2 separate regions of the Homo sapiens genome follow, and region 1 is linked to region 2. The links are contacts of gene promoters, found by promoter capture Hi-C in human tissues and cell types (Jung and others, 2019). All regions are on one chromosome and are shown on one strand. Each heading gives the region's core, a stretch centred on a gene start or on the middle of the fragment in contact. The rest is flanking DNA. Distances are from core to core; before and after follow the strand shown.

The links. Contacts are between HindIII fragments. The study calls those that stand out against the background at their distance.
Region 1: a fragment that was not itself captured here is called in contact with the fragment with the promoter of AQP8 in region 2 in 1 of the 25 tissues and cell types used here (spleen).

The regions. Positions count from the first base shown.
Region 1 is chr16:24,905,190-24,912,651 of GRCh38, reverse strand. SLC5A11 (solute carrier family 5 member 11) reads right to left here. Exons shown (of 17, transcript NM_001352248.3): 12 at 5,888-5,995; 13 at 5,477-5,627; 14 at 4,521-4,689; 15 at 3,556-3,771; 16 at 2,175-2,346; 17 at 1,026-1,324. The coding sequence ends at 1,119. Among named protein-coding and RNA genes, the nearest start is that of SLC5A11, 63 kb to the right of the region's middle. RefSeq lists an enhancer at 5,703-6,203. The HindIII fragment of the contact is 3,545 bases long and covers 826-4,370 here.
Region 2 is chr16:25,211,724-25,218,730 of GRCh38, reverse strand. AQP8 (aquaporin 8) reads right to left here and starts at 1,784. Exons shown (of 6, transcript NM_001169.3): 1 at 1,674-1,784; 2 at 1,286-1,533. The coding sequence starts at 1,685. The HindIII fragment of the contact is 27,087 bases long and covers 1-7,007 here.

The DNA.
Region 1 (7,462 bases), core at 1,349-3,848, 310 kb after region 2:
CTTGAGCCCAGGAGGTTAAAACCAGCTCAGGCAACATAGGAGAGACCCGCCCCCCATGTCTCTGCGAAGAAATTTTAAAAATTAGCCAGGCATGGTGGTGCATGTCTGTAGTCCCAGCTACTCAGGAGGCTGAGGTGGGAGGATCACATGAGCCCAGGAAGTCAAGACTGCAGTGAGATCTCAGGGTGCCACTACATTCCAGCCTGGGTGACAGAGTGAGAGAGACCCTGTCTCAAAAACAAGAGTCTAAGCCAGAACTTGAGAAGTGCACACAATTCCCTGATTTTCTTACAGCACAAGATTTCAGAGTACCAACTGGGGTCTATTTCCAAGAAATATCTAGGAGAAAGTATCACAGTGAGAAAACTCGGGGACCTTCACCCAAAGCCAGCCACAGTGGAAGGCAAGAGATAGAATGCAGGTCCCATTCTTTGCACTGTGAAGGTGAGCTGGGCAAGTTCAGATGCTAAATATCCAACCCCGGAGATGTGGCTGCTGTCAGCCTGGGAGGTCTTGTAAGTCCCTTTGCTTCTTTATCCCTTTGAATTTGGGTATTGATGTTGCACAATGGATAAGAAGAATGAATAACTAGTCTTTTGCAAAAGGAAGCTTTTACATGTCTCTCCTCTTTCCATCTTCTAACCTTCATTATTTTCAAGAAGAAAAGAGGCTGGGCATCGTGGCTCATGCCTGTAATCCTAGTACTTTGGGAGGCTGAGGTGGGGGGATCACTTGAGGCCAGGAGTTCAGGACCAGCCTGGGCAACATAGACCACATCTCTTTGAAAAAAGGAAAAATTAGCCAGGCATGGTAGTGTGTGCCTGTAGTCCTAGAAACTTGTGAGGCTGAGGAGGGAGGATCACTTGAGCCCAGGAGTTTGACGTTGCAGTGAGCTATGACCATGCCACTGCACTCCATCCTGGGTGGCAGAGCGAGACACTGTCTCAAAAAAAAAAAAAAGAAAAAAAGAAAAAAGAAAAGAGCTAAGTGTCATGTTGAAAATGGTCTATAAACACTTGGAAGCCTTGTGGTAAACAAAAGCTTTATTATTTTTTCTTTCATTAAAAAAATGGAGCACTGAAGAGAAACAGAGTTTGGACCCCTGGGTTCACCCCACACTAAGCAAAATAGCCCCAGATAAAGATGGCGCAGCTCACGCAGAAAATGAGGTTGACGTCCAGGAGGGTCTTCACCAAGGGGTTTTCTTCCAGGGAAACTATGATGGCTTCTGCTCTGGCCGGGAGCTCTTCCTTGCCCTTCTCCTGTATTCCACAGAGCCACAGGATGGCCTTCACCACTTTGGACTGCTTTGGGGTCATGTCACCTAGAAAGAACCCAGCAAAGGAAGACCGTAGAGGTGGTCTGTATCTCCCAGAGAGGTGAGACAGGGACACTCACCAGATGTGTTCAAGTGCTGGGATTACAGGCGTGAACCACCATCCACTATGCCCGACTGAAATCTCCCTTTTTTTTTTTTTTTTTTTTGAGAGAGTCTCACTCTGTCGTCCAGGCTGGAGTGCAGTGGCGTGATCTCGGCTCACTGCAACCTCCACCTCCCAGGTTCAAGCGATTCTCCTGCCTCAGCCTCCCAAGTAGCTGGGACTATAGGCATGCGCTACCATGCCCGGCTAATTTTTATATTTTTAGTAGAGACAGGATTTCACCATGTTGGCCAGGCTGGTCTTGAACTCCTGATTTCAAGTGATGCACCCACCTCGGCCTCCCAAAGTGCTGGGATTACAGGCCTGAGCCATGCTGACCGGCCAAAATCTCTCAATTTTTAAATGTTAACTCACATTTTGTTGAAACTGTAGGTGGGCTAAGCCAAAATATGTCTGCAAGCCGCCAGTTTAGAAGCACTAACTGAGAGAAGGCAAGTTGTGTTCCTGCCTACCCATGTGCAGAGAATAAGGATGAAATGAACCAACCGTGTCTCCGTAGGCACTCAACAAGTGTTTGTTTGCTGTTAGTGCCCGTAGGAAGCTTGTTGAAAGTTACTAAAAACTCCTTTCCCATGGCCGGAGCGTGGGGACAGATCAGACACTGGAGCCAGAGGATGCTAAAACTCCAAGTCTGCCCACTTTCCTGGCTTGTGATTTGATAGGAAAAAAAAAAAAATCAATCCCTTTAACACGTACTCCTTCTTGCTGTAACTGAGGAGAGAAGCTACTCACAGCTGTGGGTTTTAGACGTGTTTTCTTGAACCATCTCGAACTGGACGCTGCTGCTGCTGCTGGCCTCTGGCATCCCGTTCTGAGAGAGGGTAAGAGACAAGGGAGCTGCTGGTGGTGCTTGTTCCTTCTGGACCACGGGGTCGTGACGAGTAAACCAGGTCAGGTGGCTGACCTAAGGAGCAGGGATGAATGATGAGATTTGTGGTGGAGGTGGGGCCGGGGTTGTCCATCCTTTTCTCACACTCCCCACCCAACCCCACACTCAGCCTTTGTGTCTGAATCTGCTCCCAGCCCCACCCTCCCACCCCATCCTCCAACAAGCATCATGTTCCTGCACTCTTCAACATCAGCGCACAATTCCCCTGCTCATTCCCACGTCTTTCTCCGATAAACCCCATCCTCCTGTTGCTGGGATGTGATTATCCCTCATTCTAATCCCCAGAGCTTAACCCTCACCCTAGAGTATTGCAGGACCCCAGAACTGGTCATTTCAGCTCATCCGTTTCTCTGGCCACAGGGATTGAATTGGTTCACGGATGAGCATGTGTCCTGAGCTGACTCCATCAATGGAAATCTAGAAATTCTCTAGAAATTCTGGGACAGAAATATTAATGCTTATTTTTACTTTTTTTTTTTTTTTTTTTTTTTAAAGACAGGCTCTTGTTCTGTCACCCAGGTGGGAGTGCAGTGGCATGGTCATAGCTCACTGCAGCCTTAAACTCCTGGGCTGAAGCAATCCTCCTGCCTCAGCCTCCCTAGCAGCTGGGATTACAGGCATGAGCCATCACGCCCTGCTAATTTTTTCTTTTCCTTTTTTTTTTTTTTTTTTTTTTTGTGAGACAGGGTCTTGCTCTGTCACCAAGGCTGGAAGTGCAGTGGCATGGTCATAGCTCACTGCACCATCAAAACTCCTGGGCTCTGGCAATCCTCCCACCTCAGCCTCTCTAGTAACTGAGATTACAGGCATGAGCCATCACGCCCTGCTAATTTTTTCATTTTTTTAAGAGACGGGATCTCACTATATTGCCCAGGCTGGTCTCAAACTCCTGGCCTCAAGTGATCCTCCCATCTCAGCTTCCCGAAGTGCTGGGATTACAGGCATGAGCCACCGCACCCCAGCCTTATGTTTACTTAATGACAGTAAAAGAGGATGTATCTCTAGAAGATACTGGGCTCCATATGGGACCTAAGAATTGAAGCAGAAGTGCAGATGGATTCTGATGACCTTTTCAGAGTCCCAAATCATCCTGCCCCTGAACCTCAACCCTGGACTTTTCAGCTTTTTGGACAATCAGTCTCCTTCGCTTAAGTCAGTTTGAGTCAGTTTTCTGTCACTTCCAACAAAAAGTCTCAACGGATCTAGCCATCAGCCCAAATGTACCATCTCCTTGGAGGGTGGCTCTGTGAACCAGCTCACGGTGGAGACAGTGATGAGGGTGACCGTGGACAGGATCATGGAGAAGTAGAGGTAGTGAATGCTCTTCACCAGGACCGGGCGCTCATCTGGCTGGTCGCATCGAGGCTGCACGTAAATAAAGTCCAGGACCAGCCTAACCAAGCCCAGGAGCAGGCCCGAGATCAGGCCCCAGAAGGCACCCTGCAAAATCAGAGCAAGATCATCTTAGAGACGCCAAGGGCTCTGGCCTCCAGGAACCTCAAGAAGCCATCTCCAGGACTTGTCTTTCTTGTGGTGGTCACTGCAAGCACGGGTCAGCAATTTGAAAAGGTTCTGCAATACTTAACCATTTATCTTTTTATAATGAATTGATTACTAATAGTTTACTAACTCCCTCTTAATTTAGCTTCCCTGTTCAATAACAAAAAATGCATCAAGATACTTTTCATGAGAACCTCTCATTGCTTTTTTTTTTTTTTTTTTTTTGAGACAGTCTCACTCTGTCGCCCAGGCTGGAGTGCAGTGGCGTGGTCTCAGCTCACTGCAACCTCTGCCCCCCAGGTTCCAGTGATTCTCCTGCCTCAGCATCTGAGTAGCTGGGATTACAGGCGCCCACCACCACACCCGGCTAATTTTTGTATTTTGAGTAATGATGGGCTTTCACCATGTTGGCCAGGCTGGTCTCAAACTCCTGACCTCAAGTGATCCACCCACCTCGGCCTCCCAAAGTGCTGGGATTACAGGTGTGAGCCATCGCAGCAGCCCTCTCATTGCTTTTTTGCAAAGGTCAGATAAACACCCTCCCTGTATCTTCCACCAATGGAACTCACCCTCCCTCTCAACACCCAATTCCAGCCTGTGTCTCCCTCCAACACCCTCCCCTCCCATCCTATCCCAGTCCTCAAGGGGCAGCACTTGGTTCTGGCATAGTGGGAGCCATCCAGAGCTACCTTTTCATTGGTCCTCTTCCAGAAACATCCCATGATGAAGACCACCGCCACAGGCGGCTGCAGGTAGGAGCTGATGGACTGGATATAGATGAAGAGCTGGCCGCCCTGGCTGGCCTGGACCACAGGGATCCAGAGGATGGAGACCAGGACCAGCAGCAGCACAAACACCCTGGTGCCGGCGGCGAGAGGCACAAATTAGCATCATCTGAACATTTACTCCTCTTTCCCTCTCTCTGTCTCTTTTAATAGACAGGGTCTTGTTCTGTTGCCAAGGCCGGGGTGCAGTGGTGAGAGCATAGCTCACTGCAGCCTCCAACTCCTGGGCTCAAGTGATCCTCCTGCCTCAGCCTCCCGAATAGGTGGGATTACAGACACATGCCAACACTCCCAGCTTATTTTATTTTATTATTTTAATTTTTTTTTTTGAGACAGAGTCTCACTCTGTCACCCAGGCGGGAGTGCAGTGCGTCATCTTGGCTCACTGCAACCTCTGCCTCCTGGGTTCAAACGATTCTCCTGCCTCAGCCACCTGAGTAGCTGGGATTACAGGCACACGCCACCACAGCTAATTTTTGTATTTTTAGTAGAGATGAGGTTTCACCATGTTGGCCAGCCTGGTCTTGAACACCTGACCTCAAGTGATCCACCGCCTCGGCCTCCCAAAGTACTGTGATTACAGGTGTGAGCCACCTCGCCCAGCTGGGTTAAAATTATTTGCTTATTCTCCTCCTTCCCTGGCTCCATGAAGGCAAGAACTGAGCCCTTTCATGGTTATGTGCCCTGTGCCTGGTACACAGTAGGTGCTCGTTCAGCATCTCCTGAATGAATGAATGTCTTGCACATGGAGTCCTAATGCTCTTCAGCCTGGATAGGTTGCTGGCTGAACCTGGACTTTGCCTCTGGGTGGGCTCAGCTCTCTCTTCCCCCTGCCCCAGCCCCACCCAGTGGGGACTTACCTGCCCACAATCATGAGCTCCTTCTCAGATGCCCGAGGCCGGAGGTGATTCCAGAGGTCCATGGTGAAGATGGTGCTGGCACTGTTAAAGATGGAGGTGAGGGAGGACATGAGAGCCGCCACCATCACAGCCATCATCAGCCCACGGAGCCCTGGGGGCGGAAGGGAGGTCATGGGCCTCGGTCCTTTTCTGCCAAAGCAGCCGATCCCAGTGGGCTCAACTGGAGGAGGCAGAACCTCAGGGAGGACGGCGGGGCAGAGCTTCCTGCAGGACGTAGCCTTTCTTGGGGAGCCCAGAGTCTTCCTCCCCCACCAGCCCTCCTTTCTTGACCCTGCCTTGGATCAGAGCCCATCCGGTGATCTCCTTTCTGGGTGCTCCAGGGGACTTGATTCAGGAGTGAAGGGACATTACCTGTGGGCAGGAGTTCCAGCACGAGTTTGGGATACGCGATGTCCGAACAGCCTGAGGGGTTGCTGCAGATCTTCTGGCAGATCTCTGGATCTGCACAGGCCACTTGATCTACGAAGGAAACACAGGCCCAGAGGTGAGCAGTCAGGCCCCCAGAGCCCCAGGCCCAGGCAACATGGGGCCGGACACAGGCTTATCATATGGAAGTTTATAGCTCAATGAAATAAAAAAGAGTCTAGACTTTATAAGCTGTGACCTTGTTACTTACGCTTTCTGAGACGAGTTGCCCTATTTGTAAAACTAGGATAATAACACGACTTTATAGGAAGTGCTGGAAAAAATTCAGCTATTGTTATCGTAACCCAGATGAAGCTGGGACACCTAGTGGCCAATCTTACAATAATGTCTTTTTTTTTTTTTTTTTTGAGACGGAGCCTCTTGCTCTGTCGCCCAGGCTGGAGGGCAGTGGCACGATCTCAGCTCACTGCAACCTCTGCTTCCCAGGTTCAAGTGATTCTCCTGCCTCAGCCTCCCGAGAAGCTGGGATTACAGGCACCCACCACCATGCCCGGCTAATTTTTGTATTTTTAGTAGAGATGGGGTTTTGCCATGTTGGCCAGGCTGGTCTCGAACTCCTGACCTCAAGTGATCCGTCCATGATCATTAACTCACTGTTCAGTAACATCTGCTCACCTGTCCTGGTTAATGAATCATTTCCTATACGTAGATTCTCTTGTCAGAATGCTTCACACCCTCTGATGCCTGAAATAAGATGCCTCTAGCCCAGTTAAATCCAAACATAGCACAAAACCTTCTTCTTCCACAAACCCAACATTAACTGAAGGTTTACTATGACTCAGGAGCTGCAGTAAGCTTTGTACATACACCTCATTTAATTTTCACAACTCTATGGGGGAAGATACTGTTATTATCCCTATTTCAAAGACAGATAAACTGAGGCCCAGAGGTTAGTTTCTCCAGATTATATTGCTAGTAAGTATTATGGCCAGGAGGCAAACCCTTAGTTTATTTCAAAGCTCAGGTAGAGAAGATTGGCTCTGTAAATACTGCATTTCTAAACTCTGTGTGTGTGTGTGTGTGTGTGTGTGTGTGTGTGTGTGTGTGTGCGCGCGCGCGCGTGTTTTTGAGATGGGGTCTTGCTCTGTCGCCCAGGCTGGAGTTCAGTGGTGCCATCTTGGCTCACTGCAACCCTAGCCTCACAGGCTCCAGCCTCCCAAGTAGCTGGAATTACAGGCATGTACCATCACACCCAGCTAATTTCTTTTTCTTTAATTAATTTTTTTATTTTTATTTTTATTTTTTCTTGAGATGGAGTCTCACTCTGTCGCCCAGACTGGAGTGCGTGGCACAATCTCGGCTCACTGCAACTTCCTCTTCCAGGTTCAAGCGATTCTCCTGCCTAAGCCTCCTAGCCTGTAGCTGGTATTATAGGCGTGCCACCACACCCAGGTTTTTTTTTTTTTTTTTTTTTTTTTTTGTATTTTTAGTAGAGACGGGGTTCCATCATGTTGCCCAGGCTGGTCTTGACCTCCTGGCCTCAAGTGTTCCTCCCGCCTT
Region 2 (7,007 bases), core at 535-3,034:
TTTTTGTATCTTTAGTAGAGACAGGGTTTCACCCTGTTGGCCAGGCTGCTCTCCAACTCCTGACCTCAGGTGATCCACCCGCCTCAGCCTCCCAAAGTGCTGGGATTACAGGCGTGAGCCACTGCACCCGGCCTAAAGAGATGTTAAAGCTCTTTTCCATTCTGGTTTTCTCAGAAATAGTATTTCTGTTTCCTCATTCAGATCTATTTTTTGAGTGAGATTTAATACAGACCAACCATGTCCCAGATCACCCTGCCAGGCACCCCACTCAAGATCTTCGTCGTGATGGCTGGCTCTCCTGGGAACCAGCAGCCATGTCCACAGACCTCCCCATTGAGCCTCTACCCAGACGAGAGCTAAGCCAGAGAAGCCTGTCCCTTTCCCTGCCCCTCCTTCTTGATCACCTCTTGACAAGCCAGGACCACTGCAGATCTCTGCATACCCAGGTGGGAAAACCTGGCTCAGGTCTTCTATGCATTTCTGCTTTCCCTAAAACCCCCTTCTAGTGGTAACAATAACACAGCAACCAATGCCTGTTGTATGTTTGGTGTGTGCCAGGCGCTCTACTTCATTTAATTCTCATGACTTCCGCATGAGGCACTTGGATTTGAGCGCTGGAGCCAGACAGCTTGTTCTTGACTCCCGCCTCTGCCACTTTCTGGCCCTCTAAGCTTGGACAGATTACATGGCCTTTCACTTTTGCAGCTGTACAATGGGGCTAATAACAGGACCTACCCCACAAGGCTTTTGTGAGGATTAAATAACTAATATCTATAAAGTAATTAGACTAGTGCCTGGTACATGGTTAGCAATATAGATATGTTGGCTTGAAAAAAAAAACATTTAAAAGCTACTATTCCCATTTTATAGGCGGGGAACTTTGGGTTTAGAGAGTAACTTGCCAGCCAGGCATGGTGTCTCATGCCTGTAATCCCAAAACTTTGGGAAGCCAAGGCAGGAGGATCGCTTGAGACCAGGAGTTCAAGACTAGCCTGGGCAACATAGTGAGACCCCATCTCTACAACAAAATTTAAAAATTAGTTGGGTGCTGCGGCGCATGCCTGTGATCCAGCTACTCAAAAAGAGAATGACTTGCTCAAAGTCACAAGCTCACAGGCTGCGGGGTCTGGAGTTGACCCCAGTCTGACTCCCAACCCCATAGTTATCCAGAGCGCTCCTTGAAATCCCGAATACGTATGCGCCCAGGGGTCCTTGACAACGCCTTTGCTTTCCACACCCAGTGCCCCAAGTCAGCATCAGGCTGAATCCTCAGAGCTGGTCTCACCTGATATTCCCCAGCGTGGCAATCACGAGCCCCAAAGCCAGCCCGTGGGCCAGGGCCGGCTGCAGCAGCCCAGTGTCCGTCCCATTCTCAATGACCGACAGGCACCCGATGAAGATGAAGAGAGCAGAGCCCAGCAGTTCGACCAGACATGGCTGCACAAACCGTTCGTACCAGGACACTCGCCACCTGCCACCCACGCTCGGCTCCCTGGCCTTGTCATTGCCAAATTCAGGCTCACACATGGCTATCTGCCGTAGGGAAAAAGGGACAGAGGACACGGGTGGGAGGCAAGTCCAGATATAGAAGGCCCCGACCCCCAACCTTGAATTAATTCACAGCCCCCCTTGCTCTGCCAGCCTGGAGAGGAAGATGCCGACAGAGGGCTCACCTCTCCAGACATCAGGATCAGATGGCACAAACATCGGACTCTTGCCTGAGCTGCTGGGAAACCTGCACCTGCTGTGCAAGATACTCTTATCTCCTAGGGACAGGACCTGCTGATCACACTATGGGCTCTGCCCCTTTTAAAGGGCTGCAGAGGCTCAATGCTGGTGCAGAGAAAGCAATAAACCTCAGGTAGGAGGCGGCTCTGAGGCCCAGAAGAGGAAATTTTTTTAAATCTCAACAGGGCAGGGTGAGGGAGTCAGGGATTGCTGAACTTTCCGCCAGTGAGGGAAAAACACGCCAGCTTGGCTGTGTCATCTGGGAGCACACTCCAGGCTGTAGAAGGTGGGAGATGGGTCCAGCACCCCAGCTCCCCACGGTCCAAAGCAGAACAGCACATGTTAGTGGGCCCCACTGGGTTGGAACCTCACATGTTAAGAAACAGCAAACAGCCAGGTGCAGTGGCTCACGCCTGTAATCCCAGCACTTTGGGAGGCCGAGGCAGGTGGATCACGAGGTCAGGAGATTGAGACCATCCTGGCTAACACGGTGAAACCCCGTCTCTACTAAAAATACAAAACTCAGCCGGGCGTGGTGGTGCACGCCTGTAATCCCAGCTACTTGGGGGGCTAAGGCAGGAAAATCATTTGAACCTGGGAGACGAAGATTGCGCAGAGCCAAGATTGTGCAACTGCACTCCAGCCTGGGCAACAGAGCAAGGCTCTGAAAAAAAAAAAAAAGGAAAGAGAAAGAAGAAAGAAAGACAGAGAAAGAAAGAAAGGAAAGAAAAGAAAGAAAGAAAGAAAGAAAGAAAGAAAGAAAGAAAGAAAGAAAGAAAGAAAGAAAAAGAAAGAAAGAAAGAAAGAAAGAAAGAAAGAAAGAAAGAAAGAAAGAAAGAAAAAGAAAGAAAAAGAAAGAAAGAAAAGAAGGAAGGAAAGAAAGAAAGAAAGAAAGAAAGAAAGAAAGAAAGAAAGAAAGAAAGAAAAAAGAAAAAGAAAGAAAAGAAGGAAGGAAGGAGAAAGAAAGAGAGGGCGTGTTGGTGTTTGCCTGTAATCCCAGCTACTCAGGAGGATGAGGCATGAGAATCACTTGAACCCAGGACCCAGAGGTTGCAGTGAGCCAAGATCGCGCCACTGCACTTCAGCCTCAGAGTGAGACCCTGTCTAAAAAAAAAAAAAAAAAAAAGAAAGAAAGAAAGAAAAAAGAAAAGAAAGAAACAGCAATCCCATTTTCAATTATTTTTCCAATGAGTCCCACAGCTTCAAACACCTGCAGTCACCGTGACAGCCTGAGCCAGGACTGAGTGTATAGATGACGATCCTTCACAGACAGAGGCAGCAGAGACTGGCAAGAGGTAATGCAATGCAGCGGCAAGACCCATGAACTTTGGAAATAGGCTGCCTGGCGTTCAATCCCAGCTCTGCTGTAAACTAGCTATGTAACCCTTGGGCACATGACTTGGCCTCTCTGGGCCTTTGTTTTCTCATCTGTTAGGTGTGGATGTTAGTGGTTTCACCATGTCATAGGGTCGTTGGGAAGTTTAAATGAGATAATACGGGTAAAGTGCTCAGGACAGTGCTAGACACACAATACCAGTGTCCACTAATTTACAATACATGCTTAGCTGTAACTAATAGCTAATAGTGAGCACTTTCTATGTGCCAGGCACTGGGGCTAAGTGCCTTCTATTATCTCATTTAAACCTCACTGCCACCCTGTGAAGCAGGTACTATTATTACAACCATTTCACAGACGAGGAAGTGGAGTGTCAGGAAGATTGAGTTTCCCAAGATTACACAGCTTATATGATCACAGAACTTGTGGGCTGTCACAAAAGGATAAATACTGTATCTGATTCCACTTGTATGAAGTACCTAGACTAGTCAAATTCATAGAGACAGAAGTAGAATGGTGGTTTCCACGGCCCGAGGGGAAGGGAGAATGAAGAGTTTGTGTTTAGCGGGTACAGATTTCCTGTTTGGGAGGAAAGTTTTGGGATGGATGATACAGTGGCACAACAATGTGAAGTACTTAATGTCACTGAAATGTACACTTAAAAATGGTTCCAAATGCTGGGTGTGCTTGGCTCACACCTGTAATCTCAGCACTTTGGGAGACCAAGGCAGGAGGATCACTTGATTTTAGGAGTTTGACACCAGTCTGGCCACATGGTGAAACCCTGTCTCTACTAAAAATACAAAAATTGGCTGGGTGTGGTGGTGCACGCCTGTAATCCCAGCTACTTGGGAAGCTGAGGCAGGAGAATCGCTTGAACCTGGGGGGCAGAGGTTGTAGTGAGCTGAGATCACACCACTACACTCCAGCCTGGGTGAGAGGATGAGACTCCATCTCAAAAAAAAAAAGGTTAAAATGGCATATTTTATTTTATGTGTATCTTGCCACAATTGAAAAAAAATACTTGTGAGCTAACCCACTACACTCTACTGCCTTTCTAAGAGAGATGGATGGATGGATGGATGGATGGATGGATGGATGGATGGATAAGTGGATGGATGGGTGGATGCATGGATGGATGGGTGGATGGATGGATGGATAGATAGATGGTTGGGTGGGTGGGTGGGTGGATGGATGGATGGATGGATGGATGGATGGATAGATGGGTGGGTGGATGGATGAATGGATGGATGGATGGATGGATGGTTGGAAAGAAGGGAAGAAAGAAAGGAAGGGAGGGAGGAAGGAAGGGAGAAAGGAAGGAGGAAGGAAAGAAAATGAGATGAGTTCCTTATTCATTCATTCACTCACCAAACATTTAAATAGCTGCTGCAAGCCAGTCACTGTTCTAAGCTGGCTGGAGATGTAGCAGTGAACAAGACAGGCAAAATCCTGCTCTGTCTCATAGCTTTATCTTTGAGTGTTTGTATGCACTGATAGAGAAGTCAAGCTAGAGCTAACGGAATTTTAATGCTCATTTCTGACATTTCTCAACTACTCACTACATCTCCAACACCATGCTAAACACTCGGTATATATTCGTAAACCCCTTTGAGATAAGTCCTATCACTTATTATCACCATCTTCAGATGATAAAAACGAGGCACAAAGAAGTTAAGAACTCACCCATGGCTGTGTACATAAAAATATCTGCTTCAGGACAGAAGTGGACATATCTAGAGAAGAGCGTGACAGTTTGTTGACAGCCCATGTCAGCGAGAGGCCCAGGAATACAGGGTCTCTGCCAAATATCTGCACCTCTAGGAAGGTTATTTTTAGCCCTGTTCTCTACCTCCTCCATATCCCACAGCACATCATACAAGATGTTTCTTAGACCCTTCCTTCCACATCCTATAAATAGCAACATAAGATAGTCTGACCCAAGGCTTCCCCATCCCCCTCATTATTTGCTCAAATCCTGCCAGTACTGCTTCCAGAATAATTCTCTCTTGTTTTCACCCATGCCTTCATCTGTTCTTGCTTAGTCCCTTGAACAAAGAAAAACTAAGCTGGATGCACTGGCTCGCACCTGTAATCCCAGCACTTTGGGAGGCCAACGCGGGCAGATCACAAGGTCAGGAGTTCAAGACCAGCCTGACCAACATGGTGAAACCCCATCTCTACCAAAAATACAAAAATTAGCTGGGCATGGTGGCACACGCCTGTAATCCCAGCTACTCAGGAGGCTGAGGCAGGAGAATCGCTTGAACCTGGAAGACGGAGGTTGCAGCGAGCCGAGATCACACCACAGCACTCCAGCCTGGGCCACAGAGCGACACTCCATCCCACCCCCCCACCCCCCAAAAAATGGATTCTTTGCTCACATAATAGTCCATGACAGGCTCGTCTCCAAATGGTGACTCAGGGATCCAGGCCACTTCCATCTTGGAGCTGCCCCATCTAGGTCCTCAGATCTTCTCCAGCAAAATGGGAAAAAGAGAATGTGGAGGGCTGTGCAGGAAATTATTATGGGCTAGGCCTAGAAATACCATATATCCCTCTCACCTATATTTGATGGGCTCAAACTCAGTCACGTGGCTTCACCTGACTGCAATCGAGCCTGGGAATTGTAGTCTAGCCCTGTGCCCAGGAGGAAAAAGAAAGGCATTTTATGAATATCGAGCAATTTCTGCCACATACTAGAAATTGTTGCTTTCCCAGAGACCATGGTTCTAGTTGAGTTTTTCCCTGAATTAAATCATTCAGTGTGTCCCATGGTTCCAAGACAAACCCAGACTCCCTTAGCTAGCCACAGAGACTTCAGTTCCTAGCCCCTGAATCATCTCTTGCCACATGAACCCTAAACAATTTATCAGATAAGCTATGTACCCTCACCCGGCCTTGTCCATGCCAGTCCCTCTGTTTGGAGTCCTTGTTTGCCCTCTTGGCCAACTTCTACTCCTCATTCAGATCTCAGATCAGATATTATGTCCTCTCTGATGCCTGGGCAAACTACCTATTGGTCCTCTAAAAACACCCTTCCCTTGCTCAAGGCAAGGTTGGATTCCATAACTCCAAAACTAGGCCAGTGCAGCGGCTCATGCCTGTAATCCCAGCACTTTGGGAGGCCAAGGCGGGTGAATCACAAGGTCAGGAGATCGAGACCATCCTGGCTAACACAGTAAAACCCCATCTCTCCTAAAAATACAAGAAATTAGCCGGGCATGGTGGCACGCGCCTGTAGTCCCAACTACTCAGGAGGCTGAGGCAGGAGAATTGCTTGAACACGGGAGGTGGAGATTGCAGTGAGCCAAGATTGCACCACTGCACTCCAGCCTTGGCAACAGAGCAAGAGTCCGTCTTAATTAAAAAAAGAAAAAAAAAAGGAAAGAAAAAGAAAACTAGTGGCTTCCAGGGAAAACCTGAATGCCATTCAGACAAAACAACATATTTCCACTACATGAGAGTTTTAGAGTATGTCCTGATGTCCTCATACACAATATACTGTCTCTCAAAACCACTGAAAAACCTAGTGGGCTAAGGAGATACTGTCTTCCTAAAAAATTCTTTGGCTGGCAAACTTCCTAGTTTTCCAAATCCAGGTCTGGTTAACAGGACCAAGGCTTCTAATCTTTATCCCTGTTTGGTTGGCAAGACTTCTCTGCATCTATACCTGTCTGCCATCCCCCACCAGGTCCAGATGGAGTGTAGAAACAGGTCACATTTTACCCTGGCATCTCACCTTTCCCTTCTCTCTTGCCTTGATGGCTGCACTGTTGTGCCAGATGTGACGCTGCTGCTGTGGCAGCCATCTTGGACCGTATATATAGGCCAGATGTAGTGGCTCACCCTTGTAATCCCACCATTTTGGGAGGCCGAGGCAGGTTCATTACCTGAGGTCAGGAGTTTGAGACCAGCCTGGCCATATAGTGAAACCCCGTCT